Regions from separate parts of the Homo sapiens genome. Here regions 2 and 3 are each linked to region 1. The links are contacts of gene promoters, found by promoter capture Hi-C in blood cells and fetal thymus (Javierre and others, 2016). All regions are on one chromosome and are shown on one strand. Each heading gives the region's core, a stretch centred on a gene start or on the middle of the fragment in contact. The rest is flanking DNA. Distances are from core to core; before and after follow the strand shown. Region 1 overlaps PFAS (phosphoribosylformylglycinamidine synthase). Region 2 holds the start of TP53 (tumor protein p53). Region 3 holds the start of EIF5A (eukaryotic translation initiation factor 5A).

What was found. The method cuts DNA at HindIII sites, captures the fragments that hold promoters and counts their contacts. A CHiCAGO score of 5 or more calls a contact.
Region 2: a contact is called between the fragment with the promoter of TP53 here and a fragment that was not itself captured in region 1, in 1 of 17 cell types (fetal thymus). The highest score is 8.3, in fetal thymus.
Region 3: a contact is called between the fragment with the promoter of EIF5A here and a fragment that was not itself captured in region 1, in 1 of 17 cell types (activated CD4 T cells). The highest score is 5.6, in activated CD4 T cells.

The regions. Positions count from the first base shown.
Region 1 is chr17:8,249,717-8,252,416 of GRCh38, reverse strand. The region is part of intron 1 of PFAS (phosphoribosylformylglycinamidine synthase); the gene reads right to left. Among named protein-coding and RNA genes, the nearest start is that of PFAS, 1.8 kb to the right of the region's middle. The HindIII fragment of the contact is 2,695 bases long and covers 46-2,700 here.
Region 2 is chr17:7,686,112-7,688,811 of GRCh38, reverse strand. It overlaps TP53 (tumor protein p53), which reads left to right and starts at 1,322. Exons shown (of 11, transcript NM_000546.6): 1 at 1,322-1,435. WRAP53 (WD repeat containing antisense to TP53) reads right to left here and starts at 335. Exons shown (of 11, transcript NM_001143992.2): 1 at 251-335; 2 at 1-164. The coding sequence starts at 163. RefSeq lists enhancers at 384-433, 1,232-2,431, 2,392-2,441, 1,905-2,452, 2,472-2,601. The HindIII fragment of the contact is 572 bases long and covers 1,005-1,576 here.
Region 3 is chr17:7,306,334-7,309,033 of GRCh38, reverse strand. EIF5A (eukaryotic translation initiation factor 5A) reads right to left here and starts at 1,406. Exons shown (of 6, transcript NM_001970.5): 1 at 1,282-1,406. RefSeq lists enhancers at 1-239, 1,470-2,280, 2,110-2,409, 2,281-2,700 and silencers at 710-829, 920-1,089, 1,450-1,559. The HindIII fragment of the contact is 13,725 bases long and covers 1-2,700 here.

The DNA of each region.
Region 1 (2,700 bases), core at 144-2,643:
CAAACAAAAACAAACAAACAAAAAAGGATCTCTGATCACAAAGCTTTTGTTTAAGAATTTATTGCTTGATGATATCATGTCATAAATTATTTATTTATTTATTTATTTTCTTTTTCTTTTTTTTTGAGATGGATTCACTCTGTCACCCAGGCTGGAGTGCAGTGGCACAATCTGGGCTCTCTGCAACTTCTGCCACCTGGGTTCAAGCAATTCTCCTGCCTCAGCCTCCCAAGTAGCTGAGATTACAGGCATGCGCCACCACGCCCAGCTAATTTTTGTATTATTAGTAGAGACGGGGTTTCCCTATGTTCGCCAGGCTGGTCTCCAACTCCTGACCTCAAGTGATCTGCCCGCCTCGGACTCCCAAAGCGTTGGGATTACAGGCGTGCGCCACCATTCCGACCCATAAATTATTAAAACAAAAAAAAAGAATTGCTTAAGCAGGGCTGGGCATGGTGGCTCACATCTGTAATCCTAGCACTTTAGGAGGCCAAGAGGGGCAGATCACTTGAGGTCAGGAGTTCAAGACCAACCTGGCCAACGTGGTGAAACCCTGTCTCTATTAAAAATACAAAAAATTAGCCGGGCGTGGTGGCAAGCACCTGTAGTCCCAGCTACTCGGGAGGCTGAGGCAGGAGAATCACTGGAACCTGGGAAGCAGAGGTTGCAGTGAGCCAAGATTGAGCCATTGCACTCCAGCCTGGGTGACAGAGTAAGACTCTGACTCAAAAAAAAAAAAAAAAAAAAAGAATTGCTTAAGCAGATCCTGAATTCCAGCAGAACAGCTGACTCCACCAGCTCAAAGACTCCCACAGAAGCCAGGAGCAGTGGCTCACGCCTATAATCCCAATGCCTGTAATCCCAGCACTTTGGGAGGCCAAAGCAGTGGACTGCTTGAGCCCAGGAGTTTGAGACCAGCCCTGGGCAACATGGTAAGACCCTGTCTTTATAAAAAAAAAAATTAAAAATTAGTGGGGCATGGTGGCATGTACCTGTGGTCCCAGCTACTCAAGAGGCTGAGGTAAGAGGATCGCTTGAGCCCATGAGTTTGAGGCTGCAGTGAGCTACGATTGTGCCACTGCACTCCAGCCTGGGTGACAGAGCAAGACCCCGTCTTTCTTTTTCTTTTTTTGAGATGGGGTCTCACTCTGTTGCCAGGCTGGAGTACAGTGGCACGATCTCGGCTCACTGCAACCTCTGCCTTGCGGGTTCACGCGATTCTCCTGCCTCGGTCTCCCGAGTAGCTGAGACTACAGGTGCACACCACCATGACCAGCTAATTTTTGTATTTTTAGTAGAGATGGGGTTTCACCATGTTCGCCAGGATGGTCTCAATCTCTTGAACTCGTGATCCACCCACCTCAGCCTCCCAAAGTGCTGGGATTATAGGCGTGAGCGACTGCGCCAGGCAGACCTCATCTTTCAAATTAAAAAAAATAAAAAAAAAAAAAGACTCCCACAGTGGAACCAAGTGAGCATGAGAATCAGTTTCTTCATCTCCCTGTTTCATGACCTCACCCTGCACTCTTCAATCAATGATTTTCACACTTCATCCTAATCCTATTCCAAACTCTTTTTTAAAAACCCTAGCCCCAAAGTACTCTGGGAGATGGATTTGAGGTTTCCTCCTGTCTCCTTGTTCAGCAGCCCTATGATTAAACCTCTTTCTCTGCTGCAACCTGGTGTCTTGGTGTATTGACCTCCAGTGTGCATCAGGCAACAGAACTATTACAGTTAATACTTTTAGCCTAACATTCAAAGGCCCTCCCCATCTATCCCAAACTACCTATCCAATTTCTGGTCCCACTGCCTCTCAGCGGGACCCTGGCTTTACTCACCAAACTCTGCTGTTCCCCTAGTCTTGCCACTCAGTAAACACTACCATCATCCAATTTGTTGCTCAAGACAAAAACACAGAAGTCATCCTTAATTCTCTTTCCCTCAGACTCTCTAAATCCAATCCACCAGGAAATCTATTTCCAATCATGTCTCAAATCTCTCATCTCTTCATCTCTACTACCTCACTCTAGTTCAAGTAAGCCACCACCATCACTCACCTGGACCAATGCATTAACCTCCTGACCACTGCATAACCACAATTCATTTGTCACACATCAGCATAAAGTGGATTATGGCTTCCCATTACACATGGTATAAATTCCAACTCAGCATCCTGGTTTACCAAGTCTGGCCACTCTCTGGCCTACCTTTCCAACCCTATCTCACACCATTCTCTTTTTCACCCACAATGCACCAACCACACATTAGCTTCTTTTTTATTTCTCTAACTTGCCAAGCTCAGTCCTGGAAGGCATTTTTTTCACCCTGACATATGCATGGCTAGCTCTTGTTATTTAGATTTCTGGTGATTCGCCTTCGTGGAAAAGGCTTCACTAGCCACTCAAGTAGTTACTATCAGATGGCCGGCCCTATTTTAATTTCCTGTAAAGCGCTTATCACTATTGGATGTTTTTATTTTTCGCTCTATATTCCCCACTAGAAAAAAAATCTCTACGTGGGCATGGGATGTTGCTGCTTCGTTTCCATTGAATTACCAAGGCTTAGAACAATACCAGGGCTTGAAACGCAAAAAAATTCTAAAACTTGTGGAATGACTTAATGAACTCTTGATTCTCACCACTCTTCAGCCCCTCCCCAACTTTCAGGACAGTCTTCCTGAAGGCATTTTGTTTATTAAGC
Region 2 (2,700 bases), core at 73-2,572, 560 kb after region 1:
GGGACAACCGGGGCGGATCCCCCCTTTCGGGAGGCGGTGGCATCAGTTCAGAGTCCGCATTTTTATTCATCGGGGAAGCGTGGGGAGAAGGATGGGCTGGAGCTGGGTCCTGGTCTGAAGGACAGCAGTCCGGAGCTAACGGTTGAGTCTCCAAAGTCTTCATACTGCAGAGGAAGCACAGCGGAGATTAGCCTCAGCCAGGATGGCTTCGAAGTTCTCAGGGATCCGACGCAGAGCTAAAGAAACCCACCTGTGCTTCCCTCCTCTTCTGGGAGTAGGCAGAAGACTCCCGGGAGGAGAGGCGAACAGCGGACGCCAATTCTTTTGAAAGCACTGTGTTCCTTAGCACCGCGGGTCGCTACGGGCCTCTTGCTGTCGCGGGATTTCGGTCCACCTTCCGATTGGGCCGCCGCATCCCGGATCAGATTTCGCGGGCGACCCACGGAACCCGCGGAGCCGGGACGTGAAAGGTTAGAAGGTTTCCCGTTCCCATCAAGCCCTAGGGCTCCTCGTGGCTGCTGGGAGTTGTAGTCTGAACGCTTCTATCTTGGCGAGAAGCGCCTACGCTCCCCCTACCGAGTCCCGCGGTAATTCTTAAAGCACCTGCACCGCCCCCCCGCCGCCTGCAGAGGGCGCAGCAGGTCTTGCACCTCTTCTGCATCTCATTCTCCAGGCTTCAGACCTGTCTCCCTCATTCAAAAAATATTTATTATCGAGCTCTTACTTGCTACCCAGCACTGATATAGGCACTCAGGAATACAACAATGAATAAGATAGTAGAAAAATTCTATATCCTCATAAGGCTTACGTTTCCATGTACTGAAAGCAATGAACAAATAAATCTTATCAGAGTGATAAGGGTTGTGAAGGAGATTAAATAAGATGGTGTGATATAAAGTATCTGGGAGAAAACGTTAGGGTGTGATATTACGGAAAGCCTTCCTAAAAAATGACATTTTAACTGATGAGAAGAAAGGATCCAGCTGAGAGCAAACGCAAAAGCTTTCTTCCTTCCACCCTTCATATTTGACACAATGCAGGATTCCTCCAAAATGATTTCCACCAATTCTGCCCTCACAGCTCTGGCTTGCAGAATTTTCCACCCCAAAATGTTAGTATCTACGGCACCAGGTCGGCGAGAATCCTGACTCTGCACCCTCCTCCCCAACTCCATTTCCTTTGCTTCCTCCGGCAGGCGGATTACTTGCCCTTACTTGTCATGGCGACTGTCCAGCTTTGTGCCAGGAGCCTCGCAGGGGTTGATGGGATTGGGGTTTTCCCCTCCCATGTGCTCAAGACTGGCGCTAAAAGTTTTGAGCTTCTCAAAAGTCTAGAGCCACCGTCCAGGGAGCAGGTAGCTGCTGGGCTCCGGGGACACTTTGCGTTCGGGCTGGGAGCGTGCTTTCCACGACGGTGACACGCTTCCCTGGATTGGGTAAGCTCCTGACTGAACTTGATGAGTCCTCTCTGAGTCACGGGCTCTCGGCTCCGTGTATTTTCAGCTCGGGAAAATCGCTGGGGCTGGGGGTGGGGCAGTGGGGACTTAGCGAGTTTGGGGGTGAGTGGGATGGAAGCTTGGCTAGAGGGATCATCATAGGAGTTGCATTGTTGGGAGACCTGGGTGTAGATGATGGGGATGTTAGGACCATCCGAACTCAAAGTTGAACGCCTAGGCAGAGGAGTGGAGCTTTGGGGAACCTTGAGCCGGCCTAAAGCGTACTTCTTTGCACATCCACCCGGTGCTGGGCGTAGGGAATCCCTGAAATAAAAGATGCACAAAGCATTGAGGTCTGAGACTTTTGGATCTCGAAACATTGAGAACTCATAGCTGTATATTTTAGAGCCCATGGCATCCTAGTGAAAACTGGGGCTCCATTCCGAAATGATCATTTGGGGGTGATCCGGGGAGCCCAAGCTGCTAAGGTCCCACAACTTCCGGACCTTTGTCCTTCCTGGAGCGATCTTTCCAGGCAGCCCCCGGCTCCGCTAGATGGAGAAAATCCAATTGAAGGCTGTCAGTCGTGGAAGTGAGAAGTGCTAAACCAGGGGTTTGCCCGCCAGGCCGAGGAGGACCGTCGCAATCTGAGAGGCCCGGCAGCCCTGTTATTGTTTGGCTCCACATTTACATTTCTGCCTCTTGCAGCAGCATTTCCGGTTTCTTTTTGCCGGAGCAGCTCACTATTCACCCGATGAGAGGGGAGGAGAGAGAGAGAAAATGTCCTTTAGGCCGGTTCCTCTTACTTGGCAGAGGGAGGCTGCTATTCTCCGCCTGCATTTCTTTTTCTGGATTACTTAGTTATGGCCTTTGCAAAGGCAGGGGTATTTGTTTTGATGCAAACCTCAATCCCTCCCCTTCTTTGAATGGTGTGCCCCACCCCGCGGGTCGCCTGCAACCTAGGCGGACGCTACCATGGCGTGAGACAGGGAGGGAAAGAAGTGTGCAGAAGGCAAGCCCGGAGGTATTTTCAAGAATGAGTATATCTCATCTTCCCGGAGGAAAAAAAAAAAGAATGGGTACGTCTGAGAATCAAATTTTGAAAGAGTGCAATGATGGGTCGTTTGATAATTTGTCGGAAAAACAATCTACCTGTTATCTAGCTTTGGGCTAGGCCATTCCAGTTCCAGACGCAGGCTGAACGTCGTGAAGCGGAAGGGGCGGGCCCGCAGGCGTCCGTGTGGTCCTCCGTGCAGCCCTCCGGC
Region 3 (2,700 bases), core at 157-2,656, 940 kb after region 1:
GAAAGCAAAGTTGTTTCCGAAATGATCCCCCTGCCAAACACCTCGATCTTGGTTCCCAAAGAGAACCCAGGAACCCAGCCTCTCCTGGAAGGCCCTCCCACTTTTCCCAGGATGCATCTGTCCTGTCGGCTTTTCAGGCCGGGCCAGTACAGTCAGTAGAAAGTGGGAGAGGTGGGGGGTGGTGAATGACAATAAAATGAAAGCAAAAGGTTGGTAGTAGTGAGTAGTAGAAAATCATACTAGGCTAGTAGAGTTAAGGACTTCGAAACCGTGGAACTCCCAAACCAGTTACAACAGGAAGACAGTGACAAGGTGAAGAACGCCTATCACGGTGGGAAACTCATCTGCCTGAGGCTTTTAGGCGCTGTCCACCCAGGCCGACAGAAAAGTTGGGCTCCTGTCCAAACGCCCTGTTTCCCCATTTCTCCGGCCTCCCAGCTCGAAGGGGTGCCACTTACACCTGGCTGACCGCCACACTTCACAGGAGGGTTTTTCAGGAAAGCTCCTGGGGCCCTTGAGGTTGGGAAGCGCTAACATATGCCTGCAGCAGGCCCTCCGGGGTGATTAGGACCCGAGCCTCCGGCTTCCACTCCTCAAAATCTCAGGCCCCCTCGGAACCCCCGCGAGGACTAGCTCCCCGCGCTAGGGGCTGCCGGCTCCTGCCGACCATGTGGCCGTTCCGGGCTTCCGGTGGCCGGGACCTGGGGGGAGGGGTCCCCGCGCTGCCATGCGGCCCCGGTCCACGCTTGGCCATGCGGCCTGCGACCCCGAGGGCAGCCTCCCGTGGGGGGCACTTCCGGTGCCGCGGCCGCCCCCTCCTCAGAGACTGCGCCAGGCCGGAGCCACGCCGCCTCCCCTCCCCCCGGCCGTCCGCCAACCCCCCCCATCATGCCCTCTCACCGAATAGCCCCCTCCCCCACCTCACGTGGCCGCGCTGAGCCGGGTCCTCAACGGCCCAGGTACCCTTGCCCCGGTGGGCCGATCTGGCCCCTGGCCCTCGCCCCGGCGTGGCCGCCTGGCGGCCTCTCCCGCGTGGCTGCCTCGCGGCTCGCCGTCCCCCGCCCTGCGTCGCTCCAACGTCACCGGGCCAACCCCAACCGTCACCCCGCGCGCCAACCGGGGCGCGCGCCCGCGCCTCTCCTCACCTCGCGCCGCTCTCTGGCCGAACCCGTGCGGCGGCGGCCGCCGCTCCCCTCTGCCCCCTCCCCGACCCCCGCGCAGTTCCATCTTCTCCCGGGCCCAAGCCAAGGTACCGCGCACACGCGCCCTGCCCGCTCTCACCTCGCGCGAACGCACTGACTCGACCCCGTCCGCTCGCCGCGAGCCCAACCGCTGCCTCCGAGCCCGCTGCCGCCGCCGCCGCCGCCTCTACCGCCGCCGCCGCTGCTGCACACGGGTCTTAGTACGCAGGCGCCGACTCCCCACTGACCAACCAAGCAGCCCTATGACAGCCGCGCAAGCGTGCTATCTATCTCCTCCGCCCTCCACCCCCGCACTGCGCAAGCGCACACACCCTACCCATCTCCACCCTCCCTCCCACCGACCCGTCCAATGACGCGCATACGTGACCCCGCCCCTCACAAACCCTGAGCGTTTTCAACTAATCTGCAACGCGCAGGCGCACCCGGTTTTTTAATCTCTTCAACCTCATCTTCCCTCCCCTTGATAGACCGCTCGTCCTACCGGGCAGTCCTTGCGCCTGCGCAATAAGGAGCCCTGCACTCCACACCCTCTAAAGGAAACGCCTGGGTCTCAGAACGCATGCGTGTTCGGAATCCTAAACAACCCCTTCCACCTCAGACGCCGTCAGTACGCCAGGCGTTGAAAAGACCACGCCGCTAGATCACTTGTCTCGTCTAGAACGCATGCGTCTCAGGATACGCCCCACCTCGGCTTTAACTGGACTTAAACGACTCACACGTTTCAGAAAACTTGCTCTGTGGGGTGGGCGCCTTGTCTTGGAATCAGTCCCCCCAGTTCCACACATGCGCGGGAGATGTCTTTCCGCCCCACTCTTCTAGCGCGCTAGTGTGGTCGGGTTCCCACCCATCTCGGCTTCACTTCTCTAAATCGAATGCCTATGCTCTGCCATAGAGTTCACCCGAGAAGATAGAGCGGTCCTGCGGCGGACACCATCTTCTTTAAACCCTCAGTCCGTATTGGTCTCTATGGCATCCATAGAGGCCATTCGGCTCTGAGGTCCTCAGTAAAGAAACTTAGATGGTATTACTGTGTTTTCCCCAACTGTGCTCTGCGGTTCCCCAAAGTATTGTCTACGAGGTCCCTTAGAAAAAATTGTCTATAAAAATGAGTGGTGGGCCGGGCGCGGTGGCTGACACCTGTAATCTCAGCACTCTGGGAGGCCGAGGCGGGCGGATCACCTGAGGTCGGGAGTTCGAGACCAGCCTGACCAACATGGAGAAACCCCGTCTCTACTAAAAATACAAAATTAGCCGGGCGTGGCGGCGCATGCCTGTAATCCCAGCTACTCGGGAGGCTGGGACAGGAGAATCGCTTCTCCTGTGGAGGTTGCCGTGAGCCGAGATTGCGCCATTGCACTCCAGCCTGGGTAACAAGAGCGAAACTCAAGTCTCAAAAACATAAATAAATAATACATAAATAAAATAAAATAGTGGTAGGCCGGGAGCGGTGGCTCACGCCTGTAATCCCAGCACTTTGGGAGGCCGAGGCGGGCGGATC